3 separate regions of the Homo sapiens genome follow, and regions 2 and 3 are each linked to region 1. The links are contacts of gene promoters, found by promoter capture Hi-C in blood cells and fetal thymus (Javierre and others, 2016). All regions are on one chromosome and are shown on one strand. Each heading gives the region's core, a stretch centred on a gene start or on the middle of the fragment in contact. The rest is flanking DNA. Distances are from core to core; before and after follow the strand shown.

Evidence for each region. The method cuts DNA at HindIII sites, captures the fragments that hold promoters and counts their contacts. A CHiCAGO score of 5 or more calls a contact.
Region 2: a contact is called between the fragment with the promoter of HCG11 here and the fragment with the promoter of H3C10 in region 1, in 5 of 17 cell types (monocytes, naive CD8 T cells, M1 macrophages and 2 more). The highest score is 10.5, in monocytes.
Region 3: a contact is called between the fragment with the promoter of HMGN4 here and the fragment with the promoter of H3C10 in region 1, in 9 of 17 cell types (non-activated CD4 T cells, monocytes, activated CD4 T cells and 6 more). The highest score is 9.5, in non-activated CD4 T cells.

The regions. Positions count from the first base shown.
Region 1 is chr6:27,808,762-27,811,338 of GRCh38, forward strand. It overlaps H3C10 (H3 clustered histone 10), which reads left to right and starts at 1,290. Exons shown (of 1, transcript NM_003536.3): 1 at 1,290-1,775. The coding sequence starts at 1,313. The coding sequence ends at 1,723. RefSeq lists enhancers at 1-272, 956-1,627, 1,244-1,533, 1,628-2,299. The HindIII fragment of the contact is 5,605 bases long and covers 85-2,577 here.
Region 2 is chr6:26,520,409-26,522,985 of GRCh38, forward strand. It overlaps HCG11 (HLA complex group 11), which reads left to right and starts at 1,298. Exons shown (of 1, transcript NR_026790.1): 1 at 1,298-2,577. It overlaps TRL-CAG1-7 (tRNA-Leu (anticodon CAG) 1-7), which reads left to right and starts at 800; the gene lies at 800-882. LOC107986583 (a long non-coding RNA gene) reads right to left here. Exons shown (of 4, transcript XR_001744057.3): 1 at 1,101-2,577. RefSeq lists silencers at 404-1,003, 1,234-1,753. The HindIII fragment of the contact is 10,867 bases long and covers 1-2,453 here.
Region 3 is chr6:26,537,066-26,539,642 of GRCh38, forward strand. It overlaps HMGN4 (high mobility group nucleosomal binding domain 4), which reads left to right and starts at 1,301. Exons shown (of 2, transcript NM_006353.3): 1 at 1,301-1,436. It overlaps TRR-ACG1-2 (tRNA-Arg (anticodon ACG) 1-2), which reads left to right and starts at 433; the gene lies at 433-505. It overlaps TRV-CAC1-6 (tRNA-Val (anticodon CAC) 1-6), which reads left to right and starts at 989; the gene lies at 989-1,061. RefSeq lists enhancers at 1-251, 1,512-1,921 and silencers at 285-578, 972-1,021. The HindIII fragment of the contact is 7,010 bases long and covers 1-2,577 here.

The sequences.
Region 1 (2,577 bases), core at 40-2,539:
GTGTCTTGGTTAGGTAGTGACAATCTCGTTAGCTTTATAAAAAGCCTGGATAACATTAAAAGTATTAAACACGCCTTCATCTTAAGCTTAGTGGAAGAAAATTTAGTTTTTCCTAAGCTGGCATTATCCAAGTATGTTGAATTCTGTATGGTTCACCGTCGGGTTTTACTTTTAGTCTGTTGAAGCAAACATGTCTGCTTTGGGGCCAGATGTTTTCTGGGTCTTGGTAAATAACAAACCGGGCATTCGACGTTCAATCCAAATCTAGATCAACGACTTGGATTCTTCATTTCTGAGAAATATCTCTCGAATCTGTATAATTAATTGCATTTGAACATTAATGATTGAGTTGAGAATAATTATTAGACTAATTAGAACAGTTACTTATGGTGCCAGGTAGTTCTCTTTGAAGCATTTTCTGAAAATTCATTGAAATTAAAATTTCCCGAGCTTTCCCACCCCCAGCCACACAAATTGATTTCTTAGTACAGAGATGACTTAATTTGTTTCAGCATGGTAAATTCCACTTTTAAAATATCTGACTTGATGTTTTTAATCTGAATCAGATCTGGATGTACGAATGGAATAGATTCTTAAAAGAAAATGAATTACATTTCTAGAGTATTGGAAAAATAAGCTGCAATGGAATTACTTTAATCTAAAAGTGAAAAGTTCACATAAAGTTGTTTCTTTGACATTTTTTGGCCTTGAATTTCTCACATGCGAACCAGCTTTTCTTGGTTATAAAAATAGAAGTTTTTTAAATTTAAGTGGTCAAAAGATAGAAAATTGAGGGGACAGGTGTATAAGGCTGTCCTGTCCAGTATTGCAGCCACTAGCCAATTGTGGATAGTGATCATTGGAAATTCCATAGCATGAATTTTATATAAAATACACATTGCATTTGGAAAAGTCAGTGCCAAAAAGTGTAAAATACCTAACAATTTTAATTTCGATAACATTGAAATATGTTGGCTATATTGGATTAAGCAAAATATTAAAAATTAATTTTTCCTTGTTTTGTTACAATGTTCTCCTAGATAAGTGTAAATTACTTATATTGCTCTCATTTCCACTGGAAATCGCTAGTATAGTGAACAACTGTATAGCGAAAATAGAAAATAAAATATGGAGACCATGAACTGCTAAGTCTGTCAGAGGAATAGGTGAACAACAAAAATTTGAGTCCTTCGCCAATCCGGTTACTGTTGGGTAGGCCTTCAGCATACTTTTGTCCAATCAGCTTCAGACTCTCACTATAAATAAGCGGCTAGCTTTCTCTTTCTCCTGAAGTGAATCTAGCTCTGAAGGCATGGCGCGTACGAAGCAGACTGCTCGCAAGTCCACCGGCGGCAAGGCTCCGCGCAAGCAGCTGGCCACCAAGGCGGCTCGGAAGAGCGCTCCGGCCACCGGCGGTGTCAAGAAGCCCCATCGCTATCGGCCTGGTACAGTGGCTCTCCGCGAGATTCGCCGCTACCAGAAGTCCACCGAGCTGCTGATCAGAAAGCTGCCTTTTCAGCGTCTGGTGCGTGAGATCGCGCAGGACTTCAAGACCGACTTGCGCTTCCAGAGCTCCGCGGTGATGGCGCTGCAAGAGGCATGCGAGGCCTACCTGGTGGGGCTCTTTGAGGACACCAACCTGTGCGCCATCCACGCCAAGCGGGTGACTATCATGCCCAAGGACATCCAGCTCGCACGTCGTATCCGCGGCGAGAGGGCTTGAGTCTCAAGGACTCACTGATTACATACCCAAAGGCTCTTTTCAGAGCCACCCACATGCGCGCTGAAAAGATCTGTTTCTCTCAGGAATTCTTCCTGGTACTTGTTTTGCCTGTAGTAGATAGGGCCCATTTCCAGACGTTATACAATCTGTTTCGTAAGACTCAGCCTATCCCTTTTTGAATGCTAATTTTGGGAGTCTTAACATCTAATAATGTCCGGCATTTTTCCGTAAGCATTGAGTGTAGCCAAAAGTTCCTTCGTGTATTGCTCTCCCATCTCCGCAGCCCGGTTTTGACCGGATGGTGCTTCTAATTTTCTGCTAACCTGTACTGTGGTGTGTGTATATTTCTTGCCAACACGCCAGAAATAAAACTAAGGTTGTACTGAAGTTGGAAAAATTCAGGTTAATGTAGCTCATGCTGGCTAAAGTGAAACGTTCTCTCCCCGCCCCCCGTTCCTAAGCAGTGTTAAGTTTTCTTTGAATTTTTTCAAGCCGGATTTTGGGCCTGCTTAAACCACTTAAATGTAGTTAATGACAGATGGTTTGAGGTTTAAAAGTCTTCTGGAGAAAGCCCGCCAGAGAACATTCCCTTTGAAGCCCCATGTAAAAATACGTGTGGGAGAGAAAGTGTTTTCTCTGACTTCTGCTGACAGTGGCTAAAACTCTGAACTGTCAGGAGTATTCAAAATAAGACTGCCTTGTAGGTAAGCCTGTGGTAGTTTTTTTGAGCACAGGATAAAATACTTGAGTCTTTGCTTAAATGTTACTTTCTCAATGAGGCTTTGTATGACTAAATAAAATCTGTATAATCCCCACCTATTTTTTTCACCCTAGAATTTGTCACTATATGCTGT
Region 2 (2,577 bases), core at 48-2,547, 1.3 Mb before region 1:
TAAGCTACTCCCCATTTTTGTTGTTGCTGTTTTTGCTTTTGCTTTTTAAAGTTTTTATTACAGTATAACATCCACACCGAAAAGTGCGCAAATCCTCCATAAACTCCGACAGAGAGGCAAGACAAGCCAGGCTTCCCACGCTCCTGTCCCCTCCACCGGCCCTGCCAAGGGTAACCACGTGCTGGGAGATTTGCAGCACAACGCAAAGGAGAAGGATTAGCGAGCACCTTGTTCCAGCAAAAACTGGAGCAAGCCTAAAACTTCCTGGGAATTAAGTGTAAATTTAAGCCAGGTATTCTAGTAATGTTGAGTTCAACAGGATTGCCATTATTTTAACTAGAATTCAGTTGAGAGCAGAGCGCCATCGCCGTCTTCCGCCTTAGTCACTCGGCCCTGGGCTGGCTCACGCCCGCCCCGCCCCCTCCCCGCCCCTCCCACGCCCGCCCCGCCCCTCCCACGCCCCCGCCCCCGTCCCGCTCCCCCTACCCCGACCCGCCCTCCCTCGCCCGCCGCCCCACCCGCCGCAGCCCTCCCCGCGCAGCCTGGGAGTGACTCGGCGTTCACTCGGGAGACGCCGCTCTGTGGCCCGGACAACCGGTCCTATGCAGCGCCGTCCGAGGCAGTTCGCGGAGAGGCGGCTTACCTTTTAACCCAGGAATGCCCATATCTTGAGAAAAAGAACAACAAGGGGGTGGGCGGGGGTGGGGACATGGGGTAGGGGGGCGGCTGGTGGATGGGGAACTAATAGCGTTTAGACAAGAGACAGAAGTGAGTCCTGAGCACAATGTAGCATAAGCGCGTCAGGATGGCCGAGCGGTCTAAGGCGCTGCGTTCAGGTCGCAGTCTCCCCTGGAGGCGTGGGTTCGAATCCCACTCCTGACAGTTCGTACTTTTAGTATTTAGACACAAATCGAGTTTAAGTTTACGCTACGTTTTCCTACCTGCTCTTTGTGACATGGTCTTCTCTCTTTTTAAAAAATAAATTTTCCGAGTTCCGGAATAAAAGCACTCTTTGTTTTTATTAGCCACTCCAAGGACAGCAAAAAGTACTCTGTACTCCGAAAATAATTTCAGAACCTACCGGTGTTTTGAAATCTCACCTCCTTTTTCCGTTTCTCCTCTGTCTCTAGTTGTCTTTCCCTCTCCCTCCTTCACAGGCAGAGTTGAATAAATGTTACTCTTCAGTTCATGGCTCATTACATTACTGCAGGGCTCCTCTTTATTTAGTTATAGTTATCTTTTTAATTCCATTTCTTCAGTCTCATTCCCCACCTCATCCTTACTCCCCGTAAGAAATCACTGCAAGAGTTCCGGTCTGGCAGAGAGCGCGGAGAGACGCAGAGCGCGGGCCGCTCCTCCAGGGCGCTCCAGGCCCTCCGGCCCCGGGTCGGCGGGTGAGCTAGGGGGCGCCCCGGGACAGGCCGCGCCCTCTGCCCTGCAGATACCGGAGGCCTCTGCTGTGGCTGCCCACTGGCTGGGCCCAGGCCTTGAAGCGGTGGCGAACGTCTCTTCCCTACCCTACCTCGGTGACTGATGGCGGCGGCGGCCTCTCCCAGTCCGGACCCTGCCGGCCGTCGGGTCTCCCGGCCCAAGCCTGCCGGGCCTGGACGAAACCCCCGCCGAGCAGCCTGGACGCAGCGCCTTTGGGTGGCGGCGGGAGTAGCGTGCCGGGAAGCATGGCGGCCGCTCGAACGCCGCGCGGCGGAGGGCGTTAGGGCATGGAGGGCCCGGGAAGGCGGCCTAGGGACGCAGGCAGGCTCGGCCGCCTCTTCAGGCCACGGAGCCGCCAGATCTGGGTCCCGGGTGACCACTCTGTCGCCATTGGGCGAGACCTACCTAGTCCTAACGACAACGGACAAAGGCCTTAACGGGCCTGGGAGGTGAGCGAAGTCCCGAACGACGACGGGTGGAACGGTTAGCGGCGATCGGGCGGTTGGTCTCCGTACTACCAGACCTTGCTGTCGGAAGAGACAAATGGTAGAATGACAGGCCACGTTTGGCCCGTTGGAAATGCCCTCCATCCTCTGGGAAGATTCACAGGCCGTTTACGGAAGGCCTGTGTATATAATATGAAAAAGCTGCTCTCAACTCCACCCCAACCTTTTAATAGAAAACATTTGTCACATCTAGCCCTTCTAGATGGAAAGAGGTTGCCGACGTATGATAGAGTTAGAAAGTCACACATCTTGTAAATTCTCATTTGTTTAAAAGAAATCATAGAAAATACATGTCTTCCGGAGTTGACTTTTGGAAACTGAGTTGTTAGACGGCCTCTAGAAGCGATACGTTCACGTTTGTTCAGTGGGTTAGATGACATGGAGCTCGAAGACCTGAGAAGGAAAAAAAGAAGGTTCTATGCTAGACTGGTCATATTTAGAAGACATTTTCATATTCTATCCATTGTTTTGTGTGCATTCGCTTCCTCACTACTATGTATGTAGTTGACAATGCTAAGCTTTTTTGAAATGTCTATTCTTTTTAGATATTCTGAAGTGTCTGATATATGTTAAAATTAGAGGTAGTAAAACCACATTTTGTAAATATCTTTTTGTTACAATTCATAGAAATGTTGTTTTT
Region 3 (2,577 bases), core at 51-2,550, 1.3 Mb before region 1:
TTCCTATCCTCTTTCCCTGTTTTATTATTATTTTTCTCCAATCGCTTATCACTATTATTTTGTTTATTTAATGCTTTATTATCCGCTTCCGCCACTGCCATGTAATCTTGAGGGCAAGGGTCTCTCATGTTTTCTTCACCGTTATCTGCAGTGCCTTGAACACTAATACTGGTTGAATGAACGAACGCATTAATGGAGCGGTGATATTGGGGCAGAGAGGATGCAGGGCTTGCTTTTCACCGCCATTTTTCAGCCGGCAGAGACAGACCGAGAAAGGAATGAAGGCCACGGGGCGTGTGCAGAAGTAGCTACCAGAGAGTCCATGCGCTGCGAGCCTGGACCAGCGGGCAAACGCGGCTTACAGGCGTTCACCCAGATATTACGGGTACAACCTAGTTTCTTATGAAATACCTCGCCCCTAAGGTACGCGCAGGGCCAGTGGCGCAATGGATAACGCGTCTGACTACGGATCAGAAGATTCCAGGTTCGACTCCTGGCTGGCTCGGTGTAAGCAGGGTCGTTTTACAACTTTCTGACTCCGCAGGAGTAAGGAAATTCCTGCAAGATAAATTTGCCTGGAAGACTCAGAAGCAAGAGGGGCAGCTCCCGACAACATATGGGGTTATCATTTCTTTGCGGAGCATTCTGCCACTGACCACGTGGTAACGCCAACTACGCCAGAGAAACGCTCGCCCTACCCAAGTTGTGCCCAGCCTTGCCTGGCCATTTTGGCCGAAGAACGAAGGACCGTTCAGAGATTAAATTAAAGTCTCTATTGTGTTCTTCCCTATTCAGTCATTTGTAGAATAAATTCTATGGCTTCAGTTTGAACACTGGAGGGGCTGGGTCTGAGCTTTTCATTGGTTTTTCTGGTTTGAGAGGTCGGTACAGAGACGCACGCGCACATCAGCAAAACACGCACTTGGAACGAAGAAACACGGAACTAGGCAGGAAGAACTATTTACTCTGAAAAATAAGCCCTTAGTGGGTTTCCGTAGTGTAGTGGTTATCACGTTCGCCTCACACGCGAAAGGTCCCCGGTTCGAAACCGGGCGGAAACACGTTTTTTTTTCCTCATCTTACTACGAAATTCTTCCAGTGTGTATCTTTTAAAGACTTTTTCAGGCTGTCATAAATTTCCTGTCTTCTTGTCTTGCTAGATCGGGGCAGCAGTGCTTAGGGCGGGCCTCAGAGGCTCACACACGTATCGCCAGGGGGAGAACCAGCTCTCTCCGGCTTGGACTCGGGGCGGCTCCCCGCCTGCAGCCCCGGAAGCGCATCCTCACCTTCCCTCGCCTTCCTGTTCCTGGCGGAGCCGGGCTCCGCTCGTCTTCTCTGTCTTAGGGCTGGTGCTGGCCCTGCCCACGCCTAGGGCTCCGGCGCGTCACGGGCCTCAGCTGGGATTCCCGCGCCCCTCGGACGGCCACGAGACTCGGGTAAGTGCCTCACAGACTTTGTGCGCTACCCCGGAAAATGAGGGGCGTGGTGGGGGGGGTCCCGCCGCCCTCCGTATACTTAGGACCCTCCTGCCAGCTGGCCCCGGTCATGATTAGGGGCCTTGGGCCCCGTCAGCCCCGCCTGTCTTCCCGTCTCCAGAGTAATCGCAGCATCTCTCCTGAGCTCCGAGTGTGAATCCCTGGGAAAAGCTGAATCCAGAGGTGGGGTCACAGAGAGCCGCAGGCCCGACCGGGATGAGAAGTCCTAATCGGCGTTCTAGGGGCGTTCTAAAAGAAGGAAGGAAGGGGATTTGAAAGGATTGCTCCCGCAGGGCTGTGGCCTTAAAGAGGTGGTGACTGGCAGGTTGGACTGACCTGCCGTGGGCTCTCCCTTCCTCCCCAATTTACCTTCGAGAAACCCTCGTTGAGGAGACACCCAAGGGCTGAGTCCTCCTCCACTTTGACCTTTTGCTATTCCATCACAAAGAAAAAATGGATCCCAAAGTTAAGAAATGGACCAGCACTTGTTTAGAATCAGGACTGGTGCCTTGGTGTTTGGCCTCTTACCTCTGCCACATGGCTTGCTTACAAGTTAATCGGATTAATCAAACGCTTTTATGAGAAAGTTTTGTTGTGTCACCTGGCAGCCTCGGGTGTTCCCTAAGAGGGATTTCTTTCTTAGATGTATTACTACTTTTTCTAGGGATTAGCCAAGCCTAGCCTCTCAGATCATATTGCTCCAGGTTCCCTCAAATGACTAATAAGAATGTGATGTGTTTGTTTTTGTTTGTTTGTTTTTGAGACGGAGTCTCACTCTGTTGTCCAGGCTGGGGTGCAATGGTGCGATCTCGCTCACTGCAACCTCCACCTCGATTCTTGTGCCTCAGGCTCCCGAGCAGCTGGGACTACAGGTGTGTAACACTACACCCGGATAATTTTTGTATTTTTAGTTGGAGACGGAGTTTCACCATATTGGCCAGGCTGGTCTCAAACTCCTGACCTCAAGTGATCCGCCCGCCTCGGCCTCCCAAAGTGCTGAGATTACAGGCATGAGCCACCGCGCCCAACCGAATGTGATATTTTTATGACCATGAGAAAAGAAGGGCTGCATTCTTTGGTGGGTCCGCAAAATTAAAAAAAA